Linked DNA regions of Homo sapiens: region 2 is linked to region 1. The links are contacts of gene promoters, found by promoter capture Hi-C in human tissues and cell types (Jung and others, 2019). All regions are on one chromosome and are shown on one strand. Each heading gives the region's core, a stretch centred on a gene start or on the middle of the fragment in contact. The rest is flanking DNA. Distances are from core to core; before and after follow the strand shown. Region 1 holds the start of GMPS (guanine monophosphate synthase). Region 2 has its middle 18 kb from the start of LINC00880.

Evidence for each region. The method cuts DNA at HindIII sites, captures the fragments that hold promoters and counts their contacts. A contact is called where the count stands out against the background at its distance.
Region 2: a fragment that was not itself captured here is called in contact with the fragment with the promoter of GMPS in region 1 in 1 of the 25 tissues and cell types used here (ovary).

The regions. Positions count from the first base shown.
Region 1 is chr3:155,867,238-155,872,659 of GRCh38, reverse strand. GMPS (guanine monophosphate synthase) reads right to left here and starts at 2,010. Exons shown (of 16, transcript NM_003875.3): 1 at 1,763-2,010. The coding sequence starts at 1,789. RefSeq lists enhancers at 1,217-1,976, 2,516-2,565 and a silencer at 1,156-2,375. The HindIII fragment of the contact is 29,940 bases long and covers 1-5,422 here.
Region 2 is chr3:157,138,549-157,143,936 of GRCh38, reverse strand. It overlaps a transcript of CCNL1 not described here. Among named protein-coding and RNA genes, the nearest start is that of LINC00880, 18 kb to the right of the region's middle. The HindIII fragment of the contact is 4,382 bases long and covers 812-5,193 here.

The DNA of each region.
Region 1 (5,422 bases), core at 761-3,260:
AGAGCAAAACAAAGAAAAAATACCAGTTAGGAAAAAGAAAAATCCTCTTATATACTCTGGAAACAAATCTTATACTTTTCTGTCACTTAGTTTTGTGAAAATACTCCTCTCAAATGCACTATATATTTTTCAAAGCCCATAAATTAAATTTCAGTCCTTCTAACACCAGTTATTTCATCTATCAGCATAAAGATGAATCTTTCCAATGAGTTGTAAGACTCAAAACTAGGCAGAAAAATGCTTTGCAAGTCGACTAGTAATCGGGAAAGAGCTGGACAATGGGGTTTACATTTGCTCCTTAGGTCAGAAACTAAAGGTTTGTGTGTCTTAACAGCTCCCTGGACCTAAGCACCACTGGTGCCTTGGTTTAAAAGAGTTAAAATCAGCTACCTTATAATCTTTTACTCATTGTTCGACAAATACTTTTTGAATGATTACCGGGTGCTAAGCAACCATTCAAGAGGACCTCCTAAGATGTGACCCTTGAGCAGCACCTTTTAAAAAGAATGTTAAAATTCTGCCTGAACAAGGCACTACTATCTGACGTAGAGCACCAAATCCACCTCGAAGTATACAATCCCACCCCCCGAATGAAATTTAATTAAGTTTTTTCCTAAAGCTAGGCCCTCAACAGCGTACAGAGGAGGTGTATCTTAATGAAGTAAATCGCAATTCAAAACTGCACGGTTTCCCGCTGGCAAAACTGACTTAGTGAAGGTCAGAAAGAACTCCAGGCCAATGAAAATTTTAATACAGAGGTGAAAGCGAAGGTGCCCAATTCAAAAGCGGGACGAAAGTAAGAGGAACGGTCTAAGAAAAGTGAGTTGGAGGAGAGATGAGCAGCAGCGGTCAAACGTGCTCTCCCCGCCGGGTACGTCAAGGCGGCAACTTTTCCAGCACTCCGGAACTCCGGACTGCCCAGGCCTCGGGCGAGCTGGCACGGCTCGCGTCCCGGGGAGGGACCCCAAAGGCGGGGAAGCGGGTTACCCCGCAAACCAGCAAGCTCGACAGGGAGCAAGCTGGACGGGGGCGGGACCTGGACACACACCCTTTCCTCTCTGAGAAGGAAGCGGGGAGGGAGAACGGAGTGCGCGACCCTGGGGCCACCAGCCCTCACGCGGGCCTGCAGGGGCGTTGGGGGAGGGGGAAGACAGTGCAGCTCCGAGGGGTTCGTCCAGAACCGGCCTAACCGCCGCGGAGCCCAAGGCTGGCGGGGGGAATGGAGCGGGCCTCGCCGAGGGCAGGCGGGAAACGGGGTGGCGGGAAGACCAGAGGCCGGCCCAGCTCCAACGCCGCACAGGAGGCCCCGACCCTGCCCTGCCTTCGGCGGGCCCCGGGATCGCCACAACGGGCCCCCAGCCTCCCAGAGGGACGGGGTGGGAGCCGAGGAAGCCCCCACCCCGACACGCAGACACACAAGCCCGCTCGCCGCCCTACCCCCACCCTCGCGCCGCGCTCGCGGGCTCTGCGCCCCACAGCGGCGCGGGGGAGGCGGGGGCCAGCGACGCGGCCGCGGGGAGCTGATGCCCTCCCCGACGCCCGGACCTCGACACGCAGACAAGATCAACAAAGCATCGCCGCTCCCGAGATAAAACATGCCACAGGCCCCGACCAGGGACTCTACGACGCGTGGCTGCCCGGGGCGCAGGGCTGCGCGGACGGGCTGGGGGAAGGGGGTGGGGAAGGGCCTCGCGGGGTGGCTCCCCGGTCCGGGAGCCTCGCCTCCGCCGGGATGCGGTGCTGCAGGGACCCCCACGCTGACCTTGGAGTCTCCGTTGCACAGAGCCATCGGGGCCAGGGCCGGAGCCGCGGCGGTGACGGCGACAGTACGAGACGGGGCGGGAGGGTGCCGGAAGGGTCGGCGCCGCGGGCTGAGGTTGAGAAGGAGGCCTGGTCGAGGAGCAGCCGGCAGCGGAGAGGAGCCAGCCGCCAGAAAAGCGCCGAATGGAGCAACAGCAGCGGAGCGCGGGCCCCAGCGCCGCGGGAGAGAAGACCAGCAGCGCGCACGCTGCCCCCGCCTCCTGCTTCCGCCCCGGCCGGCCACTGGGAGGAGCCAGAGCCCGTTCGGCTTGGCAGCCGAGCCTCAGATACCCTCCGCAGCCGCCGCCAAACCGGCCGGCCCTCGAGAGGAGGGGCTCGCGGCGCCCGGCCCCGCCCCCAGCCCGGTCCCCGCCGGCAAAGCCGGCCGGGTCTCCCGCGGCCCGCCCTTGGGAGGAGGAGCCCGCGGCATCCACCGGCTCCGCCCCTCCTGCCCTCGCACCGAGGAGCCCGCCCCGGAGGAGGGGCCTGTGGCGCCGGCCAGGAGAAAAACCGAAGCCGAATCCGAGCTAGTTTGCTGCTGCCGGATTTGCCTGCTACCTTGGATGACTTCGGGAGGCTGGCGGCACCGAAGAGGCCTCCTGAGAGCTGGGCCCCTGGCGGAACTCTTAGCCGGTGGCGTGGCCTTATCTCAGGTTGCTGGACATGAAGGAGGCCAAGGCTGCTTTGGAAAGTTCCGTGGCCATATCTCAAGGATGTCATTGTAGGAACTGATCACTTAGATACTTCAAAAGTTATACAGCTCCCCACAAATACAGCAGGTGCAGTATTTCCAAAGAAAAGGGAGTTTGGGAGTGGTAATCTGGTGAGCAGCTGGCCCAGGGAACTGGTCGTGAAGCTCTGTTTGCACAACAGTGTTTTTATTGGAATTGTTTGTGGGGAAGGGGCTGCAGTCCCTCCACCTACCCCTTGGCAACCATCATGATGATGAGGTGTTACTTTGAATTTGGTTACCTAGAGGCCTAAATCGAGATTGGGGTATAAAGAATAATACTTGAGATGGCTTCCAGCTAACAAAGCCTTTCCACAAATATTTTTATTATAATACAGCCAACATTTTGCTGCAGTCATTCTTGTGTCAGACTGTAGCTAGGGTATTAAGGAGCCAGAGTGAGAAAATACTTTAAAAGCTAACTTTAACCAATCCCGTGAAAGTAGTAAGGTAGGATTGATGTTCTTATCCTTTTTACAAATGAGGAAATTGAGGCTTAGTGAGATAATGTGCCTCTCAGTATATATAGAATGTAAGGCCTGCCCAATCTGGGAAAGTGTAGACAGTTTATTAGTGAAATATTTACAAAAACGAAAGGCTTAAGGTCCTAGTGGGCCTGAGACTTAAGTATTTCGCTTACCTTTTTTTGAACGGAAAATTGAATATTTGAACTCTCCAAAGCCATGGATACTGGCTTCTCTGGGTAGGTCTGTATGCACAATCTAAAGAAGAGTGCAGTAACCAATAGGAGAACCTCAACTTACATAAACATCCACCCCTAATGGAGTGGAATGTGATGTGATATACTGGCATTAAGGATTGGCTAAGTCCCATCTATCTTAAACAATGCTTAGTTTAAATATATTCTAGGCTGGGCGTGGTGGCTCACACCTGTAATCCCAGCACTTTGGGAGGCCTAGGCGGGTGGATTACCTGAGGTCAGAGTTCCAGAACAGGCTGGCCAACATCATGAAACCTGTCTCTACTAAAAATACAAAAATTAGCCAGGCGTGGTGGCATGCGCCTATAATCCCAGCTACTCGGGAGGCTGAGGCAGGAGAATCGCTTGAACCCGGGAGGTGGAGGTTGCAGGGAGCCAAGATCATGCCATTGCACACCAGCCTGGGTGACAACAGCGAAACTCCATCTCAAAATAAACAAATAAATAAATAAATTCTAGTGGTCACCTGTGCTTAATGGCTAAGAATGTTGGCATGCACACAATATAGGATCCTGATATTCTTTCTTCTTTAGCTTCTGACTCTATTGACCCATCCCTCTTTGTTGAAACTGGATTTTCCTTAAAATGCACCAAAAAGTTGTCTTTTTATCTCTGTGATTGCTCTTGGTTGCCTTTGCTAGCTCCTTTTCCTATGTCTGGCCTTCAGGAGCTTTAAGTGTTGGATTTCTTCAGTATTTCTATTCCTAATCCTTTTCTCATCTTACTCTTCCTTGGAGCACTTGTTTAAAAATACAGACTTGTTGGCCAGGTGCGGTGGCTCACACCTGTAATCCCAGCACTTTGACAGGCCAAGGCAGGTGGATCACCTGAGGTCAGGAGTTCGAGACCAGCTTGGCCAACATGGTGAAACCCTGTCTCTACTTAAAAATACAAAAAATTAGCCAGGTGTGGTGGTGGACACCTGTAATCCAGCTACTTGGGAGGCTGAGGCAGGAGAATTCTTGAACCTGGGAGGTGGAGGTTGCAGTGAGCCAAGATCGTGCCACTGCATTCCAGCCTGGGCAACAAGAGTGAAACTCCACCTCAAAATAAATAAATAAATAAAATACGGACTTGTTAAAATACCCTTAATATGCTCTATGTTTTAACAACTCTGTTCTGTGCTCCAGACCCAGATAACTATATTCATCCTCAGTTCAATTGTCAGTGTCATATTAGGCCCCAAACTCAACAAGTTCAAAACAAAACTTCTTTCCCAAACTTCTTATTGACACTCACTTTTTATTTTTCTTTTTTTTTTTAGATGGAGTTTCGCCCTTGTTGCCCAGGCTGGAGTGCAGTGGCACAATCTCAGCTCACTGCAACCTCCACCTCCTGGGTTCAAGCAATTCTCCTGCCTCAGCCTCCCGAGTAGCTGGGATTACAGGCCCCCCCCAACCATCATACCTGGCTACTCACTGACACTTATTAGGGAGAAAACATTCAGTCTCTCACCAATAACCTGTAGGTTTTCATAGATGCCCTTTATCAAGTTGAGGAAGTTTCCTTCTGTTCCTATTTTGCTGAGAGTTTTGGTCAAGAATGGATGCTGTCAAATGCTTTCTCTGTGGCTATTCAAATGACTATATAGTTTTTCTTTTTTCAGTTTTTGAATGTGTTAAATTACAGTCATTGCTTTTTTTGTTTATTTGTTTTGAGATGGAGTTTCACTCTTGTCGCCTAGGCTGAAGTGCAATGGTGCAATCTTGGCTTACTGCAATCTCTACCTCCTGGGCTCAAGCAATTCTCCTGCCTCAGCCTCCCGAGTAGCTGGGATTACAGATGTGTGCCACCACACCCAGCTAATTTTTGTATTACTAGTAGAGACCGCGTTTCACCATGTTGGCCAGGCTGGTCTCGAACTCTGACCTCAAGTGATCTTCCCGCCTCAGCCTCCCAAAGTGCTGGGATTACAGGCATGAGCCACTGTGCCCGGCCCTGTTTCATATATTTTGTCTGAGTTTTTTTGTTTGTTTCAGGCAGGAGGGTAAATCCAATCCCTGTTACCTCCTCTTTGACAGAAGCAGAAGTCTGGAAATCTTTTTTTGTTGTTGTTGTTCCTGTAGATCCATGCCTGCTGAATGGAAGTCTCTTTTAATGATACATTGAGGCAGCTTAAACCTACAAGGTCTTCCTTCTTTACCTGTCATATAAATATTTTTGTTAAGGGA
Region 2 (5,388 bases), core at 1,753-4,252, 1.3 Mb before region 1:
GTGTTAATCACATTGCTCTAATATATAAAGCCTCCAGTGGTTTCCCATATCACTCTGTAAAATGCCCCTTGCCAGCCTCTCCCATCAACCTCGCTTTTTCTGTTCTTGTATATGCACATCTCTTCCTGAGCCTTTATTGCCATCCTCATGTGGGGATGTTTCTGTCTCAGAGATAGTCTTTATTCAGGTCCCACTCTGCAGTCCTCTCCAGAGGGGCTGCTTTCACCACCCCTTCTAAGTAAGCCTCTCTAAACACCTCTATCATATTCTATCCCTTAGCCAGCACTAATTTTTTCATAATGCTTACCACTAACTGAAATTTACTTTATCATTTAATCTCTTCCTCATTAGAATGTAAGCTCGTAAGGGAGGGGCAGCTCTGTAGTTTATTCATTATTGTATGTCCCTCACCTAATCCTATGAGTGTCTGGCCCATATTAGGGTATGTAATAAATATTACTTGAGGAATGAATGAATTTAACATACTACCAATTCTCTGAGTGACTCTTTTTAAAGCCTTCATCATCATTCACACTTTCTTGTCTTTCATATGGGCATGTCCAATCACCCTTCCATGAATATCTGTACCTGTTACAAAGAGAGGACTAGGTTCCTGGAGTTCATAGATGTAAACAACATCCTAGGGGTAGCAAACTGGTGGGCCCTGAGCCAAATCCTGGCCTGCACATGTATTTTGTTTGAGTTGTACAATGTTTGTTATAAATGAACTGGCTGATAATATTTTTTAATTGGAAATGTTTACATTAAAAACCTAGACTTCTAGCTGCTCTTAAAAAATAAAAATACGGCTGGGCACTGTGGCTTATGCCTGTAATCCTAACACTTTGGGAGGCTGAGGTGGGCGGATCACTTGAGGTCAGGAGTTCCAAACTAGCCTGGTCAACATGGCGAAACCTCATCTCTACTAAAAATACCAAAAAATTAGCCAGGCATGGTGGCGGGTGCCTATAATCCCAGCTACTCAGGAGGCTGAGGCAGGAGAATTGCTTGAACCCAGGAGGTGGAGGTTGCAGTAAGCCGAGATCGTGCCACTGCACTCCAGTCTGGGTGACAGAGCAAGACTGTTGAAAAAAAAAAAAAAAGCCGGGCGTGGTGGCACATGCCTGTAATCCCAGCTACTCGGGAGGCTGAGTCAGGAGAATCACTTGAACCCAGGAGGCGGAGGTTGCATAGAGCCAAGATCGTGCCATTGCACTTCAACTTGGGCTACAGAGCGAGACTTAAAACAACAACAACAACAACAACAAAAAAAACATGAGATCCACAATACTCCAGGCCACAGTTAACTAGCATCCAGTAGCCATCCGGGTGAGGCTGCATGCTGCAGTGCGTGACGATTCCCTCCACCCCCTGTTAATTGTGTAACACTGAAGCCAGGTGCAGGTGTCAGTTGGCAGGTATCAGTGTGCTGATGCTATTTTCTTGAATTCTGCCCTTTTGCTCATTGATGTTACTTACTTGGCTCTTGACACCTGATATCTCACGGAATATTCCAAGACAATGTGAATCACCAAATCTGTGAATGTGGCATTGTTTGACTAGGCTCCTGGGTCAGTTAAATCAGATTGTTTTCTGTGCCCCAAATCAGTAGTGAACCACCATATAGCTAAACCTTTTCAAACGAATTTCTCACTTCAGTGACTTTTACACTGCTAGAGCACTTAACAGAGCACATGACACATCATATCTTTGTACAGAGGGCCCGGCACATAAATCTCACTGTGAGGCTCAGTTTTCCACCCTAAATTACAAAATTTAATTTCTTGCCCAAAATGATTTTCTGCCCCAGATGTGTTATTTTCATGGACCTTTCAAACCAAATTTTAGTCATTTAACAAAAATTAATACAACATAGACCAACAATGAACAAATAAAGCCACATTTAAATTGATTAGCCGGGCTCTCAGCCCCTAGCTGACTTCTTTTACACACGCAATTGAAATCAAGAGTCTCAGATAAACTTCCAACTTATTTGAAAACAGTCAAATTGCAAATGTCAAGCATCTACTTGCATATAATCTGATGAGGACTATAATGATAGGTTTCTACCTAGAGAAATAAGGGTAGGTGAAGTCTCAATGCTTAGATACGTGGCACATACCTGCATGTAATTAATATTCAGTTGGAGGCAAAGACAATGTTTTAAAAAGCCAAATGACATCCAGAATAATCCTCAGTATATTTTAGAGCCAAGCAACAGTACAATGAGTGCCAAGTTTAAAGAAGAAAGATGGACCACTGTGGCCTAGAAGGCCCTGGAAAATTTTTAGAGGACAGGGAATGTGGGCTGCACTTTGGATGGGAGAAGGTTTTAAAGGACAAAGAGGAAGCCTGGCATAGTGGTGCACCTGTAGACCCAACTACTTGGGAGGCTGATACAGGAGGATCGCTTGAGCCCGGGAGTTCAAGACTGTAGTATGCTATGATTGTTCCACTGCATTCCAACCTGGGCAACAGCAGCAAGACCCTGTTTCAGGGTAAAAGAAAAAAAGAAAGACAAAGAGGAAGAGGCCCAAGAGATGGTGTTCAATGCTGACATCCTCTATTAGCTGTGCAATCTTACACATCTTACTTAACCACTCTAAGCTTCCATGTTCCCTTCTGTAATGAGTTAGTAATTAAGCCTAGTGTATTCAGATATGAAGGTTAAAGGAAATAATGTATATAATACACTTAACACAGTGTTAGGTGTGTAAATGTCCAATAAACGTTATCATTATTAGCATCTTCAGACACTTGAGGATGCCAGACTATGGCGTCTTGTAGACCAGAGCGCCATTGTTTTAAAAGTGGGTGACTGTAATTCCTAGGGTTTCCTAGGGCTGCTGTCACAAATTACCACAAACTTGGTAGCTTAAAACAACAAATAATTACTCCTTCACATTTCTGGAATCTAGAAGTCTGAAATCCAGATGACAGCAGGGCCATGCTTTCTCTAAGTCCACCCTTGTTTCTTTGTAGTTTCTGGTGGTTCCCGGCAATCCTTGGTTTTCTTTGGCCTGTAGCTGCATCACTTGTCTCTGCCTCCATCTTCACATGGCCTTTTTCTCTGTATGTGTATGTCTTCTAAGGATACCAGGGCCTGCCCTAACCCAGTATGTCCTCATCTTAACAAAGTACATCTGCAAAGACCCTATTTCCAAATAAGATTACATTCTGAGGTTCTAGGTGGACATCAATTTTGGGGAGACACTAGTCAACCCTTTTCAGTGACATAAGAAAAATAATAAAGAACCTGAAGTGGACTTTTAAAGAAATTTTCATTTTGAAATAATTTCAGATTTACAAAAAAGTTGCAAAAATTGTGTGAAGAAATTTTATATATCCTTCACCCAGATTCACCAAATGTTAACATTTCACCACACTTGCTTTTTCACTTTTTGTGGTGTCTTTTCTGCTCTGCTCGAGAGTAAGTTGCAGTCATTGTTTCTTTACCTGTAAGTACTTCAGTATATATTACTTAAAAACAAGGACGTTATCTTACATATCCACAATATAATTACCAAAGTCAGAGAATTTAACATATTGACCAATACTGTAATCTATCGACCAGACATTGCCAATATTGCAAATATTGATCTATTGATCAAATATTGCCAATTTTCCTACTAGTGCCCTATTTTCTGGTCCAGAATCCAACCTAGAATCATACATTGTCTTTAGTCGTAATCTTTTTAGTCTCTTTTCATTGTAATTGTTCCTCAGTCTGTCTTTGCTTTCATAACCTTGACATTTTTAAAGAGTGAAAACCAAACTTGCCCAATCCACGGCCCATGGGTCGCATGCAGCCCAGGATGGCTTTGAATGTGGCCCAACACAAATTCGCAAACTTTCTTAAAACATGATACTTTTTTGCGATTTTTCTTTTCTTTTCTTTTTTTTGCTCATCAGCTATTGTTAGTATTAGTGTATTTTATGTGTGGCCCAAGACAATCCTTCCAATGTGGCCCAGGGAAGCCAGAAGATTGGACACCCCTGTTGTAAACTGATGGTTCTGTCGAATATTTTTTAATTTGAGTTTGCCCTATTTTTTTTTTTTTGTGATTAGATTTGGGTTCTGTGTTTTTGGCAGGAGAAATACAACAGAAGCCAGGTTGTGTCCTCAGTGCCTCATTAGGAGGCACAGTGTTAATTTGCCCCAGTAACCAATGGTGTTAACTATGATCATTGGTTAAGGTGCTGTCTGCCAGTGTTCTCTATTAAAAAGTTACTATTTTACACTTTGTAATTAACAAGTAGCTTTTGGGGGAGATACTTTAGATCATATAAATATTGTTTCTTTTGTTTTTTATTTATTTTTTTGAGACAGAGTCTTGCTCCATCTCCCAGGCTGGAGTGCAGTGGCATGATCTGGGCTCACTGCAACCTCTACCTCCTGGGTTCAAGTGATTCTCCTGCCTCAGCCTCCCAAGTAGCTGGGATTACACACGCCTGCCACCACACCCAGCTTTTTTTTTTTTTTTTTTTTTGTATTTTTAGTGGAGATGGGATTTCGCCATGTTGGCCAGGCTGGCCTCAAACTCCTGAACTCAGGTGATCCACCCACCTTGGCCTCCCAGAGTGCTGGGATTATAGGCGGGAGCCACTGCACTCAGCCTAGATAATATCAATAGTGCTTCTTAATTAACTTCTGCCTACTAATTCTAGCATCCATTGATGATTTTTACCTGAAATAACTATTGAAAATGATTTTTAAATTTCAGCATTCGCTCGACATTTATTAGTTGGAATGCCACTGTAAGAAAGAGCTTTCTTTTCTCCTTCATTTATTCATTTGTTTATATGTTTCAGTATGGACTCATTCTATGAAGTTATAATCCATTACTATCATTATTTCGTTACTCAAATTCCGATGTGGCCAATGGAAACCCCTTTAAGATAGTTCCTGTGTCCTTTATTATTTATTTATTTATTTAGATGGAGTCTTGCTCTGTCACCAGGCTGGAGTGCAGTGGCGCGATCTTGGCTCACTGCAACCTCCACCTCCTGGGTTCAAGTGATTCTCCTGCCTCGGCCTCCCGAGTAGCTGGGACTACAGGTGCGCACCACCACGCCCAGCTAATTTTTGTATTTTTAGTAGAGACGGGGTTTCACCATGTTGGCCAGGATGGTCTCAATATCTTGATCTCGTGATTTGCCCGCCCTGGACTCCCAAAGTGCTGGGATTACAGGCATGAGCCACCACACTCGGCCTCCTGTGACCTTTAAGATGAATATTTTAAAGACTTTTTCCCACATGTGTACCTTTCCAGAAGGTTCACACCATTTGTGCTTTCTCTAGACCTGTATAACCAGAAGCTCTTGGGAACATGAGTTCTTGAGAATATCAGCACTGGCGTCAGAGGGGATGAAATAACTTTCAAAGAT